Linked DNA regions of Homo sapiens: regions 2, 3, 4, 5, 6 and 7 are each linked to region 1. The links are contacts of gene promoters, found by promoter capture Hi-C in blood cells and fetal thymus (Javierre and others, 2016). All regions are on one chromosome and are shown on one strand. Each heading gives the region's core, a stretch centred on a gene start or on the middle of the fragment in contact. The rest is flanking DNA. Distances are from core to core; before and after follow the strand shown.

Region 1 (3,171 bases), core at 646-3,145:
CTGTCTTTTTAGCAACAGCAAACTACTTAACCCCTTTTTTTTCTTTTTTTTGAGACAGAGTCTTGCTCTGTTGCCCAGGCTAGAGTGCAGTGGCGCAATCTCAGCTCACTGCAACCTCTGCCTCCCGGGTTCAAGCGATTCTCCTGCCTCAGCCTCTCAAGTAGCTGGGATTACAGGTGCCCACCACTGCACCCGGCTAATTTTTTTTGTATTTTTAGTAAAGACAGGGTTTCACCATCTTGACCAGGCTGGTCTCGAACTCCTGACCTCGTGATCCACCTGCCTCGGCCTCCCAAAGTCCTGGGATTACAGGCATGAGCCACCGCGCCGGGACTTAACCTCTTTAAACTCGGCCTTAACCTCTTTAAACCTTATCCTCTTTAAATTGGAATTCCTATCCCGAGGGATTGTTGAAAGGCTGAAACAAACAAATGTATTATGAAAATGTAAAAGCATGCAATAAACTCAGCAAGGGGTAACCATATATAAAACTAAGTATATTTCTGTGCAGAATATAGTCCCTATAGTCGAATAGGCGCAAGTGTTAGAAACAGGCTCTGCCATGGGGTCCCTGAATCTGACTTCTGAATGTCAAGAACTTTTTGAAATCTGATGCAGAATGTCGTGCTCACATGTGTTGGTGAATTCTTCTGCGAAAATGATTCACAGTTTGCTTCAGGGTCTGAAATGAGTTCACGACCCAAAATAGGAAGGGGATCGGTAGGGCAGTGTATATAGCACACCATTGACGTAACCATTAATAACTCCATCTTAGGAGAAGACCCCATTTTTACATTTCATAAGGCATTTGCCAACAAGCATACTATACTTTAATAAACAAATAAAAAAATAGTCCGCATCCAGCCAGGTAAGGACACAAACAAGCACTCTCTTCCATTACCAGTTCTCACCACAGGACTCTGTGACTATAAAAGATGGGGCCTTCGGCAGCTCCCAACAGCCGGCTTAATTGACGCCGTCTTTGCAGAAGGACCTCTCGGCCCAAACCAGGCTTCTTTTCCTCTTCTTCACTCCCTCTGGATTGGTTCGTTAATCTCTTTGCCCCATCTCTTTTTCCTCATGATGTTAAATGCTACTTTGTTGTGGGATGCTTAACTTGTAACATTTATATGTGGATTAAGTACACTACTATGATGCGTGAGCGGCTTGAGCCTGTGTGTCAGGCTCTGACTACCCAGTGACCAGCAAGTGCTGAGAACTGCCTCCTTGGGAACTCCACGCAGCTCGTGGCTTTTGTGATCGAAAGAGCGTCCACAGCAGCCTGACATGGTGGAAAACACAGCATGCGTGGACCTGGTTATTTCTAGCCTGGCACCCTGATGACAGGAGGTTAAGGCTTTTGATTTAGGGAGAGAGACCTGAGGGTAACCCAAAGAAAGGCCTCAGGTCATCGCAGAGGAGACAGAAATTACCGGTGGGCGTCCCGGCCTGCTCCTCTTCTTCCCAGAGCTCAAACTGGGCAGCAGGCCTGGCTTTGTCTCCCTTCTAGGTACCCGTTGGGCCTGGCGCGGTTTCCAAGTCTCCCTCAATTTCCCTCCAGAATCCCGCGCTGGGAGCGGAAGCCCGCGGACTCTCAGGAAGACCTAGATTTCAAATCCGGGGCGGGGGAGCCGGGCCGAGCCTCAGGGCGGGACCAAAGCGGGAGGACTGGCGCGGGACGCGAGGGCGGGACCAGGGCGTGAGGACGCGGGGCGCGGGGGCGGGGCGCGCTGCGGTGGGCGGGCGCCTCCTGGGGCCCAGCCTGGGGCTGGGTTCTCGGGCGGGCGGGAGCTAGGGGACGGGCCGCAGCGGAGGCGGCGCGAGGGGCCGACAGGGGCGGGCGGGAGGCGGGGCTGGCGCTGGAGCACATCTCCCGGCGGCGGGCCGCGGAAGCAGTGCAGACGCGGCTCCTAGCGGATGGGTGCTATTGTGAGGCGGTTGTAGAAGGTATGAGGAGGCTGTGCGGTGACTGCCGCCCTCGCTCCGGGCCGTCAGCCCTGCCCCCGCTCCCTGCGTTCTCCCAGGCCCTGCGCCCGCCCGGGTACCTGCCCGGTCTGGAAGGCGGAGTGTTTGTTTTGCCACCTCGCCCGGGCGGGGGCGAGCAGTGAAGCCCGCGGAGCGAGAGACTTGGCCCGGAGGCGGGAGCCTGGGCCGGGGCCGGGGAAGCCAGGCAGCGGGTTAAGGCTTTTGATTTAGGGAGAGGGACCTGGGGGTAACCTAAGGAAAGGCCTCAGGTCATCGGAGGGGAGACCTGGCCCGGGGGCGGGAGGCTGGGCTGGGACCGGGGAGGCCGGGCAGCGCGAGGCCGGGCCGGGGAGGCCAGGCAGCGGGAGGCCTGGCCAGGGGAACCGAGCCCGGGGCCGGGAGGTCGGGCACGGGGCACCGAGCTCCGAGGGCGGGAGACCTGGCGGCCGGCCGAGTGCCGGAAGGCCGGGTCAGGCGGCGGAAGGCAGCGGCAAGCTGGGAAACGGACGGCGCTACCGCCGGCGGAGGAGTGGCCCCGGGAAGCGGTGCTGCGAGGGCTGGGGCGGCCGGGTGCTGACTGTGAGATACTCGCCCTGGGGGCTGATCCTTCCAATTTTGGACGAGGCTTCCGTCTCTGCTGCCTTCCATGCCTGGGGCCTGGATTATCCCGGGTTGACAATGTGGTTTAGCTCTTCCAGAGAGATAGTTGCAGGGTTTAAACTCCAATTCCTTTTCGGCCCTGCAGAGTTTCGTGAGTGCTCGCAGCTCATACCTGTGGCTGTGTATCCGTGGCCACAGCTGGTTGGCGTCGCCTTGAAATCCCAGGCCGTGAGGAGTTAGCGAGCCCTGCTCACACTCGGCGCTCTGGTTTTCGGTGGGTGTGCCCTGCACCTGCCTCTTCCCCCATTCTCAGTAAGTGGCACCCAAGCAGGAAACCGGAAAACATCGTTCGCAGCCCCCTCTCGCCCACCCACTTCTTTTCCTGCTTAGTCGCCAAGCCTTGTCGACCTTGTAAATGTCTGCCAGATCTGTCCGCGTCTCTCTATCTCTGATTTCAGCCGTCTGACCACAGCAGCCTCTTCCCTGGTCTCTCCACTTCCAGACCCGCCTGCTCCTTTGCAGTCCACTTTTTACAGCACAGGCAGAGGGATCTTTATGAAATGAAAGTCTAGAAAGCTCGTCCTTTGCCCTTAGGTTAAACCCAGC
Region 2 (3,591 bases), core at 401-2,900, 330 kb before region 1:
TGGGGTGGAGTGATGGGAGTCAATGAGGCAGCTTATTCCTGACACTTCAGAGGTCAGGAAGCAGAGAGGTCCTATAGTCGCCTATGTTTTGTGGTGGGATGTAAGAGGCAGCAACAGGACTGCCCTCCCTCACTTCTGCAAAACACTCGTGGTTGCTCCCTTCCATGTGCCAGGATTCCTGAAAGCCCCGTGGACACTCCTTTAAAGCACTGCCTCCAAAGAAGGCCTTGTAAAAATACACGTGTGATTTTAAAATGTTCATGCACTTGGATCCGATGATTCTACTTCTGGAAATATATCCAAAGGATATACTCATAGATATTCAAATAGAGATCCATAAAAGGAATATTCTACATTACATTATTATTTTTCTCGGGTCAGATTTAGGTGGGGTATACTTTACATACAATAAAATTGATCCTTATAAGGTAGACAGCTGGATAAGTTTTGCCAAACGTATACAGTCATGTAACCACCCCCATAATAAAAAAGCTTCCCATCATTCCAAAAAGTTCACCCATGCTACCCTTTGTGGTCAATCCCCTGCCGCAATCCCTAGCCCCTGGCAGCGCTGATCTGCTTTGCAGCTTGTAGTTTTGCCTTTTGTGAACGTCACACAAATGGAATTACAGGTGTGGCCATCTGCACCTGGCTTCTGTCATTTAGCAAATGTTTTTCGATGCATCCATGGTATTGCATTCATGGGTTGTTTGCTCCTTTTATTGGTGAGTAGTATTCCATTGTGTTGTCCTATAGTTTGTTGACCCATTTTCCTATCGGTGGGCATTTGGGTTGTTTCTGGTGTCTGGCAATCAGGAATAAAGCAGCTAAAACATTCATGTGCAGGTCTGTGTGGACCACAGGGCGCAGACATGCAAATGAATGTTGGTCTTCACATGAATGATTCCAGAAGTTGAATCATTTATTTACAGAGCGAGCTTCCAAGAAAAACCAGAATGTCTAACATCTAACATCTGATACCCTAAAGAATGGAGCAACCAAATGTAACCACTGACATTGCATTTTGAAAGGCTACTTGTGGCGTGGAAATATTTCACTTGTTTAGTGTTAAAAAGCAGAACACAGAACAATACGCTTTCAGGAGGAAACAATGGTCATCTCTGGCTCGTGGAGGACTTTTACTTTGTTCTTTCTTGACCATTTCTCTGTTGGGGTCTCTGAGCTGTCAGGAACCAGAAAACCATCCAGGTCTCTTACATGATGAGGTTGACCGTAAGAGGCTGCGGGACAACAAGGAAGGCAGGAAGGAATCTTGTCTGCAGAGGAGGCTGGAAGGGGCCATGTGGATGATGGCAACAGCAGCCCCTCAGAGATCTGCAGGAGCAGCAGGCTGCAGGCCCGGGGGGGCTTCCAGACACCCTGCCTGCTCTGTGCTCTCTCTTCCGTCTGTCCATCAGTCCACAAACTCTGAAGGAGTGACTTCCATCTGCCAGGCACGGCTTATCTCCCGGCATGTGGACGTGAACAAGGCACACTTGGCCGCTTCCCTCATGAAGCTGGGAGTCTAGTGTTGTCTCTCTCTCTCTCTCTCTCTTTCTCTCTCCTTCTGCTCCCACCAGCTAAACCCTCCCCTTCCCTTTTTTCTCTTCTGTGGCTTCTGCTTCGTTCCTTCCCTCTGCGGGTCGTAGGCAAATGCTCTCCTGCACCCCTCAGTCCTGCGAGACGGTCCTGCGTGTCTCGTCGCTCAGCTCCCGACAAGAGGGCCTGAGTGCAGTGCAGTCAGGGCAGAGCCTTACAGGAGCCCACGCTGCAGCCACGCCAGCCGGGGTTGCTGCCTTTGAGACAGGCACTCTGCCCTGGGGCTGACAGGATGCTGGCACCCAAGCTACTTCTGGATCCTTCTATCTAACTGTGTATTAATCAACAAGAGTGTATACATTTTCTGAATTATTTTGGGGACCAATCTGTTGAGTTCCAGGGCCTGCTCCATTCACAGCCATGCGGACGGGCTTCTCACCCACAGTTTGCCATGAAACAAGAAATAGACATAGAAGAAATCTGACCCAAGAAAAGTAATAATGTCACACAGAAAGTCCCTTTTACAGGTCTCTATTTGAATATCTATGAGTATATCCTTTGGATACATTTCCAGAAGTAGAATCATGGGATCCAAGTGCATGAACATTTTAAAATCACACGTGTATTTTTAGAAGGCCTTCTTTGGAGGCAGTGCTTTAAAAGAGTGTCCATGAGGCTTTTGGGAATCCTGGCACGCAGAAGGTAGCAGCCACGAGTGTTTTGCAGAAGTGAGTGAGGGCAGTACTGTTGCTGCCTCTTGCATCCCACCACAAAGCATGAGTGACTGTGGGACCGCCCTGGTCAATCCAGCGGGCAAGGGCAGGGGCAGAGTCAACAGACACACAGCTCAGTAGACTGTGGGTAAGAAACCCCCTTGGGACAGCTGTGAATGGGGCAGGCCCCAGAACACAACAGACGGGTCCCCAATATAATACAGAAAATGTATAAACTCTCATTGATCAATGGGTACAAATATGCAGTCAGATAGAAGAAATGAGACCTAGTGTTCGATAGATCAGTAGAGTGACCATATTTGACAATAATCTACTGCACAACTCAAAATAGCTAGAAGAGAATGATTGAAATGTTCCCAGCATAAAGGAAAGATAAATATTTAAGGTGAGGGATAACCCAATTCCCCGACTTGACCTTTACACAATATAGCAATGTGTCAAAATATCACATATGCCCTGAAGATTTGTACAGCTCTTATGTAACACTAAAAAAGATTAAAATAATATTACAACATTTTTTAAACTGGAAGCTTTTTATAATGAGCACCTGCTACTTTTCAAATTGGAGATGGGGGCAGTAGAAAATAATATTGCACAAGAAAAAAACCTATTTCCTGAGAAGGATAAGAACATTCTAGTGAGTCCTGGCTAAAGATATAAGCAGACGTGACTCCATCCATGTTGGCTGTCTCCCAGGAGCAGAGGGCGAGGCTAAGAGAAGGGTTCAGGGAACTCGGTCTGTGGAAGGTTAGAGACAGAAAGAGGACGGAACACTGGGACCTCGGGGAGGGCGGAGCTGGGGGAGGGCTGAGAGCATGAACTCACTTCTTATGTTCTTTCTTGTTGTTTTTTGCACTATAAATATATTTTGTTATCCATGAATAAAGCACTTGACATTTACTAAATATTTATAATTCTTCTCATTTTTACTTTTCGAGGCAATTTTAATTGAAAAAAATGTTTCCAGCTTTACTGAGGTATGATTAACAAATACAAATCATATATATTTGGTGTATACAATGTGATCTTTTGATACATATATATATATACACTTTGTGAATATATACACGATCAAACTAATTAACATATCCATCACCTCCCATAGTTACCTTGTGTGTGTGTGTGTGTGTGTGTGTGCTGAGAACACTTCAGCTGGTGACTGTAGCTAATAATCACGGATTGTGTACTTGAAATTTGCCAAGACAGCAGATCAAAAGCGTTCCTCTGTTGCCCAGGACAGCCCTGAAGGAGGTTTGAAAGCATGGCCATGCTGTTCCTAACAGAGCCCACATCCATTAGATTTGCTATTTTGAAACTT
Region 3 (3,370 bases), core at 211-2,710, 420 kb after region 1:
TATTGTCAGCAATGGTTCCTAAGCCTGACTTTTGATCGAAGTCATATGAGGAGCTTAGATAGATAGATAGATAGATAGATAGATAGATAGATAGATAAATGGACAGACAGATAGATAGATAGACAGATAGATATATAGATAGATGCCCAGTCTTAGTCTAGACCTTATTGAATTTTGATGGGGTGGGTCTCAGCCTTTAACTCTCCAGGAGAGAGGTGAGAGCAGGGGTCTGTGCAGCAGGAATGAGCCTGGGATCCCTGTAAAGGCTGACAGCTGGTCCCACCCAGTGATGACTCACAGCAATAAAGAGAAGACCCTGGTTCCCACCATGAAGTAGCCAATATGATGCCCAAATGTGAGATGAGGAGTCTGAAGAACTGTTTCTAGCTATTCCACTTAGTGCCTGTGCATTCCTATTTAGTCAGTTGGAAGATAGCTGCCTTTTATATAAGGAATGTGTTCTTAGAAGCCTTGTTCAATTTAAAACACGCACAAATAAAGACTATTATCCTAATAGGAATAAATATAAACTGTGTATTCATAAACCTAGTGTTAAATCAAGTTTAGCCTAAAGCTGCCTCCTTACATATTTTAAATTCAGCCTAAAAGTTTCTCTGTATACAGGGAGCCATAACCTAAATGGAGGTGTAAACAGATTGTAACCTATCTTTAAAAGAAAAACCTTAGCCAAATTAAATTTAAAAGAGTTTAATTGAGCAAAGAACAATCCATGAATCGGGCAGCCTCCTGAGCCACAGTAGGCTCAGAGAGATTCCAACACAGCCACGTGGCAGAAGAAGATTTATGGGCAGAAAAAGGAAAGTGACTCAGAGAAAACAGAAGTGAGGTGCAGAAACTGCCGATTGATTACCGGTCAGTGTTTGCCTTATTTGAACATGGTTTGAACAATTGACCATATTTGATTGGCCAAAACTTGGTGATTGGCACAAGAGTTGGTTACAGTCTGTTTACAACTCTATTTAGGTTATAATTCATGATGTACAGAGAAACCTTTAGGCCAAACTTAAAGCAGGTAATGAGGCAGCTTTAGGCTAAACCTGATTTAACACTTCTCTTGTGCCAATCACTGAATTTTGGCCAAAAGGGATCAACTGTTCAAAACGGGTTCAAGTAAATCAAAAGCTGATCTGTAACCAATTTGGCTGTTTGTGTACCTCACTTCTGTTTTCTGTACATCACTTTTCTTTTTCTGCCCATAAGTCTTCTTCCACCACCTAGATGCACTGGAGTATCTCGAGCCTACTCTGGCTCAGGAGGCTGCCCAACTGGCAAATCATTCTCTGTTCAATTAAACACTATTAAACTTAATTTGGCTAGGGTTTTTCTTTTAACACTAGAATGACTGTTGTGAACACTTTCTTTACTACTTCGTTTCACCTTGAACTCTGATACTTTGCAGAATGCTGTCCTCTTAATTAACAGTCTGGGACAACATGGTACTTATGTATGCCCATCTTCTTAGCACTTTAACACACAGAATTTCTATTTCAAAGTTGATTTTCCGAGTACACTTTCTTTTCAGCAGGAGCATGAGCCCCACCAATAAACACACAGATGGCATTATTAATATAAAAAGAATTTTAAATTATAATGTCACAGTGTATTAAAATATTAGTACAAAAGTGTTCCATTGTCTATGAGGTAAACTACTTAAACTACTTCAGAATAGAAAGTGTAACTTATGTTATATTAGTCAGGGTTCTCTTGCGGGACAGAACTAATAGGATAAATGTATATATAAAGGGGATTTTATTAAGGAGTACTGACTCACACGATCACAAGGTGAAGACCCACAATAGTCCATCTGCAAGATGAGGAACAAGGAAGCCAGTCCAAGTCCCAAAACCTCAAAAGTAGGAAAGCCGACAGTTCTGTCTTCAGCCTGTGGCCGAAGGCCCAAGAGCCCCTGGCAAACCACTGAGTCCAAAAGTCCAAGAGTCCAAAAGCTGAAGAACTTGGACTCTGATGTTCTAGGGCAGGAAGCATCCAGCACAGGAGAATGATGAAGGCTGGAAGACTCAGCAAGTCAAGTCCTTCTATGTTCTTCTGCCTGCTTTATTCTAGCCATGCTGGCAGCCGATTAGATGGTGCTCACCCAGACTGAGAGTGAGTTTGCCTCTCCCAGTCCACTGACATAAACGTTAATCTCCTTTGGCAACACCCTCACAGACACACCCAGGAACAATACTTTGCATCCTTCAGTCCAATCAAGCCGACACTCAGTATGAACCATCACATATGGGTACATGAATTACCTTTCATCTATACTCCAGGGGTAATTACTCAGCATTTGAACAGAAATTTATAATCAGAGGTGGTTAAAGAAAATGTTTTCTATTTTATTATTATAGATACTAAGTCTTCATTAGCTAGCATAAGGCATTTTAGAAATAATTTTCCACAGATAAAATAAGTGGTGTTCAAAAAATACAGTCACCTGAAAAGACTGAATGGATCCCAGCACCTTGCTTGGTTGAAGTATCAGAATCAGGCCAGATTCTGTGGGGGTGGGGCCCACATCCAAAACTCATGCCCTCTGGGCACCCCATGTTGCAGAGGACTCTGTCATAAGTTCTATCTCAAGGTTGGCTGATCTCAGAGTTCATGCAGGGAACTTGATTGTGGCCTGAAGACAGAAAGAGGAGATCTCACCAAGCTAAGGAGAACAGGTATGCAACTGTTTGTGTAATAAAGCACTGGACTGGCCTTTGTCCCTAGTTCCTGGGAGAGAGACTCTGAGTACTCGGAATTTCCTGAATAATAGGGGCATCTTTGGTCACCAGAAAGACCAACCATGTGATCTCAGGAGGTTAGGACTTTGAGCCAGTCTGATCTCCAGGGAGGGGAAAGGGGCTGGTGACTGAGTTTAATCCTTGGTCAATGGTCTGACTAATCATGCCTATGTCAGGAAACTATAATACAACTCTGGACACAAGCTCAGAGGAACTTTCTGTTTGATAAACACATTGATGTGTCAGGAGGGTGATGCGCTCTGATTTCATGGAAAGAGAGCGTGGGATCTCTGCGTTTGGGACCCTCTCAGATCTTGTCCTATGTATCTCTTCATTATGCTGGTCCTGATTTGCAGCCTTTATAATAAAACTGTAATTATAAGTCTAGCACCTTCCTGAGTTCCAGGAATTGTTATGGAGAATTGTCAAGCCTGAGAGTGGTTGTAGGATTTGTAGCTAGTTAGTTGGTCAGGCACAGGTGGTCTGGAGACCTGGAATTACAGCTGGCATCTGAAATGGGGACAGTCTTGCTGGGGACAGTGCTCCTAACATGAGGAATCTGACATTAACTCCAGATGGTTATTGTCAGAATTGTACTGCAGGACACCCAAACTATC
Region 4 (3,179 bases), core at 662-3,161, 390 kb after region 1:
GTGCCTCTGCAGCCCCCAAGTCTGTGGCAGGCATTGCCCATCGATCATGACACGGTCCTTGCAGCTTGGGTGCGCCACCAGAGTGCTTCTCATCACAGGGCTGCCGGCCGGCCCTTCTCTGGTGCTCTTGGTCCTTCTTGGAGAAGGACTCAACGGAGCTTGTCTTCTTGGCTGAGTGGGCCTCCGTGTCGAGAGACCACAGCCTATGAAATGGCTGTTTTGGATGTGGTTTTGTGAGTTCTTGCATACGGATATTCTACAATCCACAAAGCCACTCTAGTGTCTCCAAGTCAAAGGTTAATACCCAGGGAAGGTGAAAATCTCCTTTAAAATTGCTAGTGAAAAGTGGGATAAGCCAGAGGAATATAGAATTAGGTTTATGTAGCAGCCTGGGTTTCCATAGCAACGAGATGCAGTTGCGTCAAACACACGACTAAACTTTTCCACACTGGTTTTTAGCCTGGAAGGAGGCTGGAAGAGGGTATTTACTGACCGTGCAGGCGCAGTGAAAATTTGACAGCAAAGCCCTCCGAAAAGTCTCAGTCAAAGCAAATGGCAATGACTCCCCACAAAAATACCACGTGTCAGCCCCCGCTACAGCCTCGCGGGCCGAACCAGAGTGGCACATATGCAAAAGTGTCTCGCTTGTGGGACAAAAGGTATTGTAACTCATCCTGGAAACACACTACCCTTAAGAAACCCCTCAGAAGCACAGGGGCAGTCATTTGGGGTCTCTGGGGTTTCATGAAATACAGCATCACATTTTGCAGCTCAAAGCCTCCTATTTATTGGGGACTCAGTGAAGAAAGCCAGAAGTGTGATGTTGCCTGGGTAGGAGAGCCCGGCCTGCAGCCTTCTGCTAGCAGCAGCAGGAAACTGCAGCCCTGAATCAGGGCCTTTGTTCTCCTGAAGCCTGCAGGGAGTAGGCCCTTCTGCTCACACTGCCCTTGGGCAGCAAGCGTGTGTCCCTGGGAGCCCATGGTGGCGGCCCCCTAGGTGCAGCAGGAGTTGGGCCTGGAGGCCTGGCTGGGGGCAGCTGGGGACAGCACTCATTGTTTCTGCCCCTGCTCCTCTCGCAGCAGTGAGGACTGGGCTCCCATCCAGCAAAAAGGGCTGGAAGCTTTCTGCAAGAAGCACCCAGGCTTGGTTGGTTGGTTGGTTTGAAATGTATCCATTATTTAATTAGGTTCTTTGCAAGAAATTGAGAACCGCAGTTGGTCAGGACACATTGCGTTTGTGAGTGAGAACACAGAATGAAGGTAGCCCTAGAGCTGAGGGACAGCTTTGGTTCGGGGCAGCATTTGTGAGTCCACAGCTTTCTGATCTGTCTCGCACTGCTGTGTAAGCCGCATTTCCTTCTCTGTGTGGAAGTGCTCACCTTCCTGGTGTCTGTGCGTGTGCAGCAGCCAGATGTGGGGGATTTTCACACTGCTCATCGCAACTTTGATGGAGGTGCTGATGACACATTTCCAGTATGTTCCACACAGAGGAACTCAGTTGAGAAGCAGAGGTCTAATTACTGCTCAGCTCAGGAAAACCACCCTCTGGACTCCGTGGCGCCCAGTGAGGATGATGGGAGCAGTCCCGGGGGAGTGAGGCTGCCTGCAGCCTTCCCACGTTCTGACTGAAGGGTTTTGTTTTGTTTGCCAGGGCTCCATGATTCCAAGGCGCATCTTGAGTAGGCACATAGGTAGGCATTTCCGGAAGTTTTACCATCCAGGCACCTCCATTCTTATCATCCTCTGCTGGTTTTGTGACAGTAGCAAGAACCATTTTTTTTTTTTTTCCAAATCTGGATTTAGCGGCTGAATGCTTCCTCTTGTACATGGCTTTTCTGGACTACAAGCAGGTCAGGAATATCTGCCCATACCCCTGATGGGACAGGGTTTCTGCTACAGAGGGGCTTCCCCATCCTGGGCTCTTTGGGTTTGAGATTACCCTTCTTAATCTTGCCACTGGCATGAGCCTTCTTGGCTACAGGTTTCTTTCCTTAGCTTCCCGCTGCTCAATTTTTCACTCATCATCTTGCGACACGGGAAAGCGTTGGGTCTTGTTTTGATGCAACTCACTACGGAATAGATGCAGAGGCAGAGGCAAAAGTATCAGTGTTTTATCAATTGCTTGAAAGGCTACAAATAGATTCACAGAATGTGTAGTGCTGGAGGAGACAAACATACAACACAAGAAAGATATTCAGCCTGCAAATATACTTAATGCCTGGCCAGTGTCAGGGAGAATGGCAGGACCAGCTCCTCTCAATATGGGAAGGAGTACTGAGGAACAAGACCCTGGTGTGTCCGGAATTGGTGGGTTCTTGGTCTCACTGACTTCAAGAATGAAGCCACAGATCCTCGTGGTGAGTGTGAGAGTTTACTTAAAGATGGTGTGTTGGGAGTTTGTTCCTTCTGCTGTTCGGACATGTTCAAAGTTTCTTCCTTCTGGTGGGTTCGTGGTCTCGCTGCTTCAGGACTGAAGCTATATACCTTCACGGTGAGTGTTACAACTCTTAAGACGGTGCGCCTGTAGTCATTCATTCCTCCCATCCGCAGTCGTTCATTCCTCCCAGTGGGTCTGTGGTCTTGCTGGCCTCAAGGGTGAAGCGGCAGGTCTAGGAAGTGACGGTTACAGCTCATAATGGCAGTGCAGGCCCAATGAGTAAACAGCAGCAAAATTTATTGCAAAGAGCAAAAGAACAAAGCTTCCACAGACCGGAAAAAGACCTGAGCAGGTTACCACTGCTGGTTGGGGCAGCCTGCTTTTATTCCCTTATCTGGCCCCACCCACATCCTGCTGATTGGTCCATTTTACAGAGAGCTGATTGGTCTGTTTTACAGAGAACTGATTGGTCCCTTTTGACAGGGTGCTGATTGGTGTGTTTACAATCCCTGAGCCAGACACAGAGTGCTGATTGGTGCATTTACAATCCTCTAGCTAGACATAAAAGTTCTCCAAGTCCTCACCAGATTATCTAGACACAGAACACTGATTGGTGCATTTACAAACCTTTAGCTAGACACAGGGTGCTGATTGGTGTGTTTACAAACCTTAAGCTAGAAACAGAGTGCTGATTGGTGTGTTCACAAACCTTTAGCTAGACATAAAAGTTCTCCAAGTCCCCACCCCACTCAGGAGCCCAGCTGGCTTCGCCTAGTGGGTCCCGTGCCAGGGCCGTGGGCGGA
Region 5 (3,178 bases), core at 621-3,120, 350 kb after region 1:
TTCTTCACATTTCTTGTGCTTGGGGTTTACTGAGCTTCTTGGATCTGTAGTTTCACAGTTTTCATCAAGTTTGAAAATTTGTGGCCATTAATTTTTCAAATATATTTTCTGTCCTTTTTGATCCTTTATAGACTAATTACACATGTAGGAAACTACTTAAAGATGTCCCACAACTCACTGATGCTCTGTTCATTTTTATTGTCAGCCATTTTTCTCTCTGTGTTTATTTGCAGTTTCTATTGCTTTTCTTTAAGTTTACTAATCTTTTCTTCTTAGATGTCTAAACTGTGATTAATCCTATCCAATATATGTTTTATTTCAGAAATTGTAGATTCCAAAAAGCTTAATTTACATTTTAAAAAATATTTTCCCCTTCCTTAATATGTTCAATATTTCTTCTATCTTCTTAAATATATGGAATACAGTTATAACTATAATTTCTGTATAGTTCTCTTCATTGACTTTTCTCTTTATGAGTTATATTTTCTTGTTTCTTTGGCTATCCGGTGATTTTTTGTTGGGTGCCAGACATTATGAATTTTTCTTTTTAGGTCCTGGATAGATTAATATTCTTATAGATATTCTTGCGTTTTGTTCTGGGATGCAATTAAGTTGCTTAGAAACAGTTTTATTGTATTTAAAGTGATAGAAAAGACTGATGCACTCTTTAGCTTATACAGTATAGGCATACAGGCTATCAGAATCAAAAGAGCTTGAGGTAAGTTAAGCCTGGGGTCTACTTTAAAGGGAAAAGCTAATTTAATACTCTTCCAGAGTCAATCAGTGCTGATTAATTTTTCTTTAATTATTCAACTTTTAGATGTGTGGATCCTAAAAACAAAAAATCAGCTCTGCGTGTCTTTTTTTTTTTTTTTTGAGATGGTCTTACTCCTCTCACCCAGGCCAGAGCGCAGTGGCACAATCACAGCTCACTGCACTCTCAGCCTCCCAGGCTCAATGGATCCTCCCACCTCAGCCTCCCAAGTAGCTGAGACTACAACTGCGCCCCACCACGCCCGGCTAATTTTTAAATTTTTTTGTAGAGATGAGGTCTTGTCGTGTTGCCCAGGCTGGTCTTGAACTCTTGGGTTCAAGCAATCTTGGCCTCCCAAAGGGCTGGGATTACAGGTGTGAACCCCTTGCACCTAGCCTGAATGTCTGTGTTTTCTACTTACATTAGAAGAGGTGTGTGAGATTTGCAAATTTATTGCCAGCATAACAGTGATGCCAGTTTGTGAAGACCATTCTGTAGTAATTGAGACACTGCCTGGTTTTCCTAGCATTTTTCTTATTTTCTTTCCTTCTCTATGTGACTCTACCAGTCTGACCCCTGATTTATCCTCTGAAACCCTCAATGAGGTCAGGAACGTAGTCTGAGGAATAGCAGAACCTAAAAGATTTCTTGACATGCAAAATCTGTAATAGAGTTGAGATTTGAATAAGACTGTAATTAGTGTATTGTGGGATGTCTTCACATGTCTGTAAAACACATGAATTTACATAAAAGATTTATCCCACAATTTGGGGAACCCACTAATTGAGTTTACTGAAAAAATTATGCATTAGACCCTTGAACAACATAAATTTGAAGTGCACAGGTATATGCAATTTTTTTTTTTTTTTTTTTTTTTTGAGACAGAGTCTCACTGTCGCCAGGCTGGAGTGTAGTGGTGTGGTCTCAGCTCACTGTGGACTCCGCCTCCTGGGTTTGGGTGGTTCTCCTACCTCGGCCTCCCAAGTGGCTGGGATTGCAGGCACATGCCACCATGCCGGGCTAATTTTTGTGTTTTTGGTAGAGACGGGGTTTCACCATGTTGGCCAGGATGGTCTCGATTTCTTGACCTCGTGATCCACCCACCTCGGCCTCCCAGGGTGCTGGGATTGCAGGAGTGAGCCACTGTGCCCGGCCATAATTTTTTTTTCAATAAATATATTGGAAATTTGTTTGGAGCTTTGTGACAACTTGGAGAATTCACAGGCTGGGCATGGTGGCTCATGCCTGTGGTCCCAGCACTTTGGGAGGCCGAGGTGGGCAGATCACCTGAGGTTGGGAGTTCGGGACGAGGCTGACCAACATGGAGAAACCCCGTCTCTAGCAGAATTACAAAATTGGCCTGGAATGGGGGCACATGCCTGTGGTCCCAGCTGCTCGGGAGGCCGAAGCAGGAGAATTGCTTGGGCCCGGGAGGCAGAGGTTGCGGTGAGCACGACCACAAAATACACAAATCTATTAAAAGTTAAATTTTATGAAAACATACAGACTGTACATGTAAGCAAATTTAAAATGCAGTATTAAATCATAGCTCTATAGCCGCCACTGTCTGGCCACAGCCCCGCGCTCCTCGCTGTCGCTTGTCATCTCGCACAGGGTGGTTCCGTTTCTGGTATTTGGTGCCGGAATTAAGCAACCACCATGTTGAGCAAAAAGGCAAGACCACCAAGAAGCGCCCTCAGTGTGCAACGTCCAAGGTGTTTGCCACGTTTGACCAGTCACAGATTCAGGAGTTCAAAGAGGCCTTCAACATGATTGATCAGAACAGAGATGGTTTCATCAGCAAGGAAGATTTGCATGGTATGCTTGCTTCTCTAGGGAAGAATCCCACTGATGCATGCCTTGATGCCGTGATGAATGAGGCACCAGGGCCCATTAACTTCACCATGTTGCTCGCCATGTTTGGTAAGAAGTTAAATGGCACAGATCCTGAAGACGTCATCAGAAATGCTTTTGCTTGCTTTGATGAAGAAGCAACAGGCACCATTCAGGAAGATTACCTGAGAGAGCTGCTGACAACCGTGGGGGATCAGTTTACGGATGAGGAAGTGGATGAGCTGTACACAGAAGCACCTATTGACAAAAAGGGGAATTTCAATTACATCGAATTCACAAGCATCCTGAAACATGGAGTAAAAGACAAAGATGACTGAAAAGAACTTTAGCTAAAACCTTCCAGTTACATTGTCTTACTCTGTTTTGTTTCTCACACACTTCCACCACCCTCATAGAACCTGTTGCATGCAACTTAGTTTCACAGCTTTGCCTCTTTTTTTTTATGTATTTATTCCAGAACTTTCTGCCACTTAGCACTTGTATAATCAGACGGGAAATGAGGATGAGGGCATAAATTGTATTGAAAAAGAGATCGCCAATAAAAATCAACAAATGTGAAAGCCCCCCCAA
Region 6 (3,468 bases), core at 126-2,625, 370 kb after region 1:
TAATGGGAAGAGCTGTAGATATAAAAAAGCTTAGTGTAGGCAAAGAGACGCTAGAAGGTTTCCTTAGGTGGAAAAGAAAAAAATCATAAAATTGGAAAGGAAGAAAGGAAAAAGATGAAAAATGTTGGCAGAGCAGCTTCTGGGATGAATGAAATTTAATAAACCTTTGCTGAGATGGGTTATGACTTTGCTCTCTGCTTTTGGAGTTGATTTTATTTTATTTTTTTTAGATATAATGGCACATGGAAGTGTGTCATAAAGTGGGAGAAAAAGTGCAAGAATTCCTCAAGACCCATATGTAAGGTTTTCTATAATTCACTTTGTATGCTACAATTGTTTGCCCTGCATAGTGCCAGGAAGATATAAAAATGTGAAATGAACAAATATTGTTTAAGAGTTTAAAGATACTTTGGATGTCATGACTCCAATAATATTACCTTACAGATCAACACCTGTGTTAGTCCATTCTCATGCTGCTATGAAGAAATACCTGAGACTGGGTAATTTATAAATAAAAGAGGTTTAATTGACTCACAGTTTCACATGGGTGGGGAGGCCTCAGGAAACTTATAACCATGGTGGAAGGCACTCTTCACAGGCAGCAAGAGAGAGAATGAGTTTGGAGTGAAGGGGGAAGCCTCTTATAAAACCATCAGATCTTGTGAGAACTCACTCATGGTGAGAACAGCATGGGGGAAAATGCCCTCATGATTCAATTATCTCCACCTGGTGCTGCCCTTGACACATGGGTATTATTACAATTCAAGGTGATATTTGGGTGGGGACACAGAGCCAAACCACATCATTCTGCCCCTGGCCCCTCCCAAATCTCATGCCCTCACATTTCACAACACAATCATGCTCTCCCAACAGTCCCTCAAAGTCTTAACTCATTCCAGTATTAACTCAAAAGTCCAAGTCCAAAGTCTCACCTGAGAAAAGGCAACTCTCTTCTGCCTATGAGCCTGTAAAATCAGAGGCAGGTTAGTTACTTCTAAGATACAATGGGAGTACAGGCATTGGGTAAATGGTCCCCTTCCAAATTGGCCCAAACAAAGGGGCTACAGGCTCCATGCAAGTCCAAAATCCTGCAAGGCAGTTATTCAATCTTAATGCTCTGAAATGATCTCCTTTGACTCCATGTCTCACATCTAGGGCACACTGATGCAAGAGGTGGGCTCCCATGGTCTTGGCAGCTTTGACCCTGTGGCTTTGCAGGGTACAGCCCCCTCCTGCCTGCTTTCACAGGCTGGCATTGAGAGTCTGCAGCTTTTCCAGGAGCACAGTGCAAGCTGTCGGTGGATCTACCATTCTGGGGCCTGAAGTATGGTGGCCCAGTAGGCAGCGTCCCACTGGGGACTGTGTGTGGGGGCTCCAACCCCACATTTTCCTTTCACACTGCCCCAGCAGAGGTTCTCCATGAGGGCTCCACCCCTGAAGCAGACTTCTCCCTGGACATCCAGGCATTTCCATACATCCTCGGAAATCTAGTTGGAGGTTCCCAAACCTCAATTCTTGACTTCTATGCACCTGCAGGTCCAACACCATATGGAAGCTGCCAAGGCTTGAAGCAATGGCCTAAGCTGGATCTCGACCCCTTTTAGCCACAGCTGAAACTGGAATGGCTGGGATGCAGGACACCAAGTCCCAAGGCTGCACAGAGCAACAGGTCCCTGGGCCAGGCCCAGGTAACCATTTTCCCCTCCTAGGCCTCCAGGCTTGTGATGGGAGGGGCTGCTGTGAAGTTCTCTGACATGTCCTGGAGACATTTTCCCCATCGTCTTGGTGATTAACATTCAGCTCCTCATTACTTGTGCAAATTTCTGCAGCCTGCTTGAATTTCTTCCCAGGAAATGGGTTTTTCTTTTCTATCACGTCATCAGGCTGAAAATTTTCCAAACTTTTATGCTCTGTTTTTCTTGAACACTTTGTCACTTAGAAATTTCTTTTGCCAGATATCCTAAATCATCTCTCTCAAGTTCAAAGTTCCACAGATCTCTAGGGCAGAGACAAAATGCCACCAGTCTCTTTGCTAAAGCATAGCACGACCTTTATTCCAGTTCCCAACAAGTTCCTCATCTCCATCTGAGACCACCTCAGCCTATACTTCACTGTCCATATCACTATCAGCATTTTGGTCAAAGCCATTCTACAAGTCTCTAGGAAGTTCCAAACTTTCCCGCATCTTCCTGTCTTCTTCTGAGCCCTCTAAGCTATTTCAACCTCTGCCTCTTACCGAGTTCTAAAGTTGCTTCCACATTTTTCCGTACCAGTATAGCAGCACCCCACTCTTGGTACCAATTTACTGTATAAGTCTGTTCTCACACTGCTGTGAAGAAATACCTGATACTGGGTAATTGATAATGAAAAGAGGTTTAATTGACTCACAGTTCCATATGGCTGGGGAGGCCACAGGAAACTTACAATCATGGCAGAAGGCACCTCTTCACAGGGCAGCAGGAGAGAGAATGAGTATACAGCGAAGAGGGAAGCCCTTTGTAAAAGCATCAGATCTCATGAGAACTCACGGTCATGAGATCGGCATGGGGGAAACTGCCCCCATGATTCAATTATCTTCACCTTGTCTCACCCTTGACACGTGGGGATTATTACGATTCAAGGTGAGATTTGGATGGGGACACAGAGACACACAAACTATATCAACACCCTTTAGTCTTGACACTCACAGGTACTTGCCCAAATCCACAGGGAAAAGCTTGGCTCAGTTGCTGGGGTGTGCCATCCACACATTCATCACAAAGTAAAATAATGCCTAACAAAACTGAACACCTGACTCTTTTCCTGAAAACTTTTAAAGCATTAGGCCTATCAAGTGTCATGCACAGCTCAAGAGGAAATGCTATCTGGAAATCCCCCAACTCCCATGGAAATTCCCAGCTGGCTCCCTGTACACTGCAGATACCTGAAGTGGTTTTGAAGACTGGGCAGCTAAGACCTAAGTGAAGAAGAATTCCTCCCCTGCAAGGATGACCAAGAACCCAGCCGCTCTGTTTCCTTCCCGACTGGAGTCCTCTTCTCCACTGGTAGGCACTGACCCCTGCAGAAGCTGCCCCAAGCTTCTGGGACCCAGTAGCACCTTTGACGTGGTGGTCGGTGTTCCCAGTAACATCTCCTTTCTCTGCAGCACCCAGCTCTTAGACTGAAAAGCACAGAGCTTTCCCCACTTCCTTTAATAAACTCAGGAAAGAGTGGGGCTTGGATGGGCTATTTCAGCAATCCGGAACACTTAACAGGCCCAAATACTTTTCTATTTCATGCCTCAGCCCAACTCAGGCAACTCCTATTTTCCTCCTGGAAATGAGAAGTGGACATCCAGGAAGGGCTGTGGAAGAGGCAGAAGTCAGGAGGCTGCGGGTAACTGGGGGCGAGTCGAGTGGTTCTGAGGGCCAGTGTTAAGGTGTAGGCAGCAGAACAGCAGCGAGGGTGGGGTAGGCAGTGGAGTATTAA
Region 7 (3,184 bases), core at 199-2,698, 350 kb before region 1:
GTGATTTCCTTTCATGCCAACAGAGAGGCTCTTCTGGGATGAGTGTGGTCACGGCGGGGCCTTTCTGCTTCACTCCATCCCTCCCGTGTCCTGCAGCTGACGGGACCCCCGGCACACCTGGAAGAAACCACAGGGAGGGAGACACACACAGGAGGAAAGAAAGGGGGAAAATGGGAAGAAAAGGGAGAGGCATGAAAGAGAGCAGACAAAGGAGGGAGGAAAAGGAAGAGAATGGAGAAGATAAACACATCATAAGCAGGTCTCAAGACTTCACACATCATCACCAAAGGCTGTTTTTACTTGGGGTGATGCTTAATTTTTTGTGTGAACCTGGCTGCACCATGGTACGCAGATGTTTGGTAGAACACCAGCACAGGTGTTGCTGCGAAGGTATTTTAAGATGAGATTAACATTTACATCAGTAGACTTTAAGTAGGTTATCCTCTGAATGTGGTGGGCCTTGTCCAATCAGTTGAGGGCTTGAAGAGAAAAAGACTGAGGTTCCCTGAGGAGGGGTATTCTGCCTCCACACTCACTTCCTTAGGACTCAAGCTGCAACAGCAGCCGTGCCCTAGGTCTCCGGCCTGCCCACCTACCCTGCAGATTTGGGGCTTGCCAAGCCTCCACAATCGTGTAAGTCCATCCCTGAAGACAAACCTCTGTCTGGCGTTGCATTCGCTACTGGATAGAGGGGTAAGCAGACCCACCTGTGAGGAGCATGCCGTCCAGTGGGAGTGAATCTGCCACCTCGGGGTCTTGCACTGGGTGAGAGGTTTGGTGATAGACCCGGCGGAGACACGGGGGAGCGATGACTGGGGAGCAGGTGTGGTCAGAAGTGACCTCGAGAGGGACGGTGCTGAAGGGAGTCTTGGCTGAGGAGGGGCACCTGCTCTAAGCACCACTTGCTTTTGCTGTAGGTACGTCAAGTGGAGGGAGCTGTGCAAAGAAGGGCCTGGCAGCGTGGAATAGCTGACGGGTGAGGCTTGTGAGGCCTGAGGAGTCTCCCCAACCCGTCTCCACTTGTGTCTGCACTGACTTCTCAGTTTTCTGTCACTTCTTCGGAGAAGCCTTTCTGGCCACTCTATTTGATCGAAGCCCCCTAAGATATGGTCCCATAGCATCAGGTACCTCTGTTGTCATACATAGTCACAGTTAACATTTATTTGAGGGATTACGTGATAAGTAATCTGTATCTGATGCCAGAATGGATTGGAAGAGCTTGCTACTGGTGACAGGTGAAAGAATTAGGAGGCTCTTGCCAAAACCCATGAGGGAAATGATGGAGGTGGAAATAATGGGGGCTGCTTTGATGCTGAAAAGGGAATGGACTAGACAGGTGTCGAGGACATGGGTCTGTCCCCATCGGAGGCACAGACCATTTCTTTCCTGCCTATTATGTCCCCCTCAGAACCTAGTGTGGTGGCTGGCAGAGAGCGAGGACCGAACAATGTTGGTTGAAAGGATGAAGGAAGGACTGATAGATGCCCTTCCTTGCACACACGGTGCTTTCTAAATCATGGTTTAGGGGCTACACAAGTGAATGGCTCCATTGCATCCCAGCATTGTGTCTCAGTGCGAGCCACGGCTGTTGGATCATTGCTGTCAGGGCTGAGGCATTGCGACACTTCCGTGTCCTGTGCTACATTCTAAAGGCTGCTCTGTGAAGGTCGGAGCCAGCCGGACGGTATGCACACAGAGAGGTGTCCTGTGGATGACAGGTTTGGGAGATTCCTTATTTCCCTTTCTGTTAAACAGAAAGCCTGGTTCCATTTTGGGACTGCAGGCTGAGAGTATGTCCTTCCTCAGACTTGCTCTGGGAGTGAATCCCGACACATATCTGGTTTGCAGTATGTGCCAGGAATGGGCTTAGGCACTTCACACACGTTATCTTACGTAATATTCATAATTCTTTGAAGAGGTACAATCTTAATTTTTTAGTGCAGGAAACTAAGACCATAAGGCTAATGACCTCCCCAGGGTCACTTGGCTGGTAAATCCTAGAGTGGGGAGGGGCATCCCGCAGGCTTGAAACCCCTCTCTTTATGCCAGTGGGTCTCAACCCAGGCTGCCCACTCCAGTCCCCTGGGGAGCTTTCCTCTAGGCCCGGGCCCGTGACATTAGACGCTCTGGGGTGGGGCCCAGAATGAGAGGCTGTCAGAGCTTCAGGTGTTTCCAGTGTGCAGCCAGGGTTGAAAAGCAGCACCCCACAGCCTCAGCCTCCACCTGTGTCTCCTAAATCCAGATTCCTGCCAGGCCATTCCACCTGGATGTCCCAAATTTGGGACATCCTAAACAGCACTCCCTCTCCAACAGCCTCGATTTAGAATTCCTTCACCAAAACACTCCAGACAGAAATGCTTGAGTTGTTCTTGACTTCCGCTCTGCTCTGACCACAATCCATAGACATTAAGTTCTGTTGATTCCTTCCTGACACCCCTTCACTCCGACCCCCGCAGACACCACACTGACACCCCACAATTTCTCATGGGTTTCTGCAAGAGTCGCCTTATTTTTTTGCCCATCACCAGAAAGCTACTACGTACTGGTGTTAGGGTGATCTGTCTAAAATGCTTAATAGCCTTCAGTTGCTTCCATTGACTTTAAGAAAAGTATCCCGACTCCTCTCGTGTCGTGCCTTGCCCTGAGATAGCAGTCCTCTCCTGCTGTGTTATTTCAGGCGGCCTGCAGTGTTAAAGTACTCGTAGTTTTCCCTCCAAGCACTCAACGCCCTGTGCCTATCTGCCTCCGCACAGGCAGTTTCTCATGCTTATAATGCCCTTCTTTCCTGGGCAAATCCAATTCATCCTTCAACACCCTATTCAGAGGCGCCCTCTTCCAGGAGTCCCCTTAGACCACCTCTGCCCAACAGGCTGGCTTAGGTATTTTTTTTTGAGATGGTGTTTCACTCTTGTTGCCCAGACTGGAGTGTGATGGTGCAATCTCGGCTCACCGCAACCTCTGCCTCCCGGGTTCAAGTGATTCTGCCGCCTCAGCCTCCCGAGTAGCTGGGATTGCAGGCATGCGCCACACCATGCCCGGCTAATTTTGTATTTTTAGTAGAGATGGGGTTTCTCCATGTTGGTCAGGCTGGTCTCGAACTCCTGATCTCAGGTGATCCACTGGCCTCAGCCTCCCAATGTGCTGGGATGACAGGCATGAGCCACCGTGCCCAGCCTCTTTCTAC

What was found. The method cuts DNA at HindIII sites, captures the fragments that hold promoters and counts their contacts. A CHiCAGO score of 5 or more calls a contact.
Region 2: a fragment that was not itself captured here is called in contact with the fragment with the promoter of CASP3 in region 1 in 2 of 17 cell types (M2 macrophages and megakaryocytes); the score reaches 7.2 in M2 macrophages.
Region 3: a fragment that was not itself captured here is called in contact with the fragment with the promoter of CASP3 in region 1 in 2 of 17 cell types (neutrophils and activated CD4 T cells); the score reaches 7.0 in neutrophils.
Region 4: a contact is called between a fragment that was not itself captured here and the fragment with the promoter of CASP3 in region 1, in 13 of 17 cell types (naive B cells, naive CD8 T cells, activated CD4 T cells and 10 more). The highest score is 8.6, in naive B cells.
Region 5: a fragment that was not itself captured here is called in contact with the fragment with the promoter of CASP3 in region 1 in 3 of 17 cell types (neutrophils, M2 macrophages and naive B cells); the score reaches 5.5 in neutrophils.
Region 6: a contact is called between a fragment that was not itself captured here and the fragment with the promoter of CASP3 in region 1, in 14 of 17 cell types (naive CD8 T cells, naive CD4 T cells, activated CD4 T cells and 11 more). The highest score is 12.3, in naive CD8 T cells.
Region 7: a fragment that was not itself captured here is called in contact with the fragment with the promoter of CASP3 in region 1 in 2 of 17 cell types (neutrophils and megakaryocytes); the score reaches 8.7 in neutrophils.

The regions. Positions count from the first base shown.
Region 1 is chr4:184,648,171-184,651,341 of GRCh38, reverse strand. CASP3 (caspase 3) reads left to right here and starts at 1,895. Exons shown (of 8, transcript NM_004346.4): 1 at 1,895-1,947; 2 at 2,711-2,877. PRIMPOL (primase and DNA directed polymerase) reads right to left here and starts at 1,604. Exons shown (of 14, transcript NM_152683.4): 1 at 1,434-1,604. RefSeq lists silencers at 1,588-2,167, 2,178-2,387. The HindIII fragment of the contact is 9,772 bases long and covers 1-3,171 here.
Region 2 is chr4:184,977,812-184,981,402 of GRCh38, reverse strand. No RefSeq gene overlaps it. Among named protein-coding and RNA genes, the nearest start is that of LINC02437, 9.7 kb to the left of the region's middle. The HindIII fragment of the contact is 2,311 bases long and covers 495-2,805 here.
Region 3 is chr4:184,231,819-184,235,188 of GRCh38, reverse strand. No RefSeq gene overlaps it. Among named protein-coding and RNA genes, the nearest start is that of ENPP6, 16 kb to the right of the region's middle. The HindIII fragment of the contact is 7,747 bases long and covers 1-3,370 here.
Region 4 is chr4:184,253,354-184,256,532 of GRCh38, reverse strand. It overlaps the pseudogene RPL6P16. Among named protein-coding and RNA genes, the nearest start is that of ENPP6, 37 kb to the right of the region's middle. The HindIII fragment of the contact is 1,578 bases long and covers 1,123-2,700 here.
Region 5 is chr4:184,298,876-184,302,053 of GRCh38, reverse strand. It overlaps MYL12BP2 (MYL12B pseudogene 2), which reads left to right. Exons shown (of 3, transcript XM_047416561.1): 3 at 2,285-3,172. The coding sequence ends at 2,925. Among named protein-coding and RNA genes, the nearest start is that of MYL12BP2, 14 kb to the left of the region's middle. The HindIII fragment of the contact is 3,052 bases long and covers 345-3,178 here.
Region 6 is chr4:184,275,397-184,278,864 of GRCh38, reverse strand. It overlaps LOC105377582 (a long non-coding RNA gene), which reads left to right. Exons shown (of 6, transcript XR_939552.3): 2 at 231-500; 3 at 1,537-1,688; 4 at 2,819-3,044. Among named protein-coding and RNA genes, the nearest start is that of MYL12BP2, 37 kb to the left of the region's middle. RefSeq lists an enhancer at 2,466-3,468. The HindIII fragment of the contact is 2,687 bases long and covers 32-2,718 here.
Region 7 is chr4:185,001,433-185,004,616 of GRCh38, reverse strand. It overlaps LINC02437 (long intergenic non-protein coding RNA 2437), which reads right to left. Exons shown (of 2, transcript XR_001741949.1): 2 at 1-117. Among named protein-coding and RNA genes, the nearest start is that of LINC02437, 14 kb to the right of the region's middle. The HindIII fragment of the contact is 4,746 bases long and covers 1-3,184 here.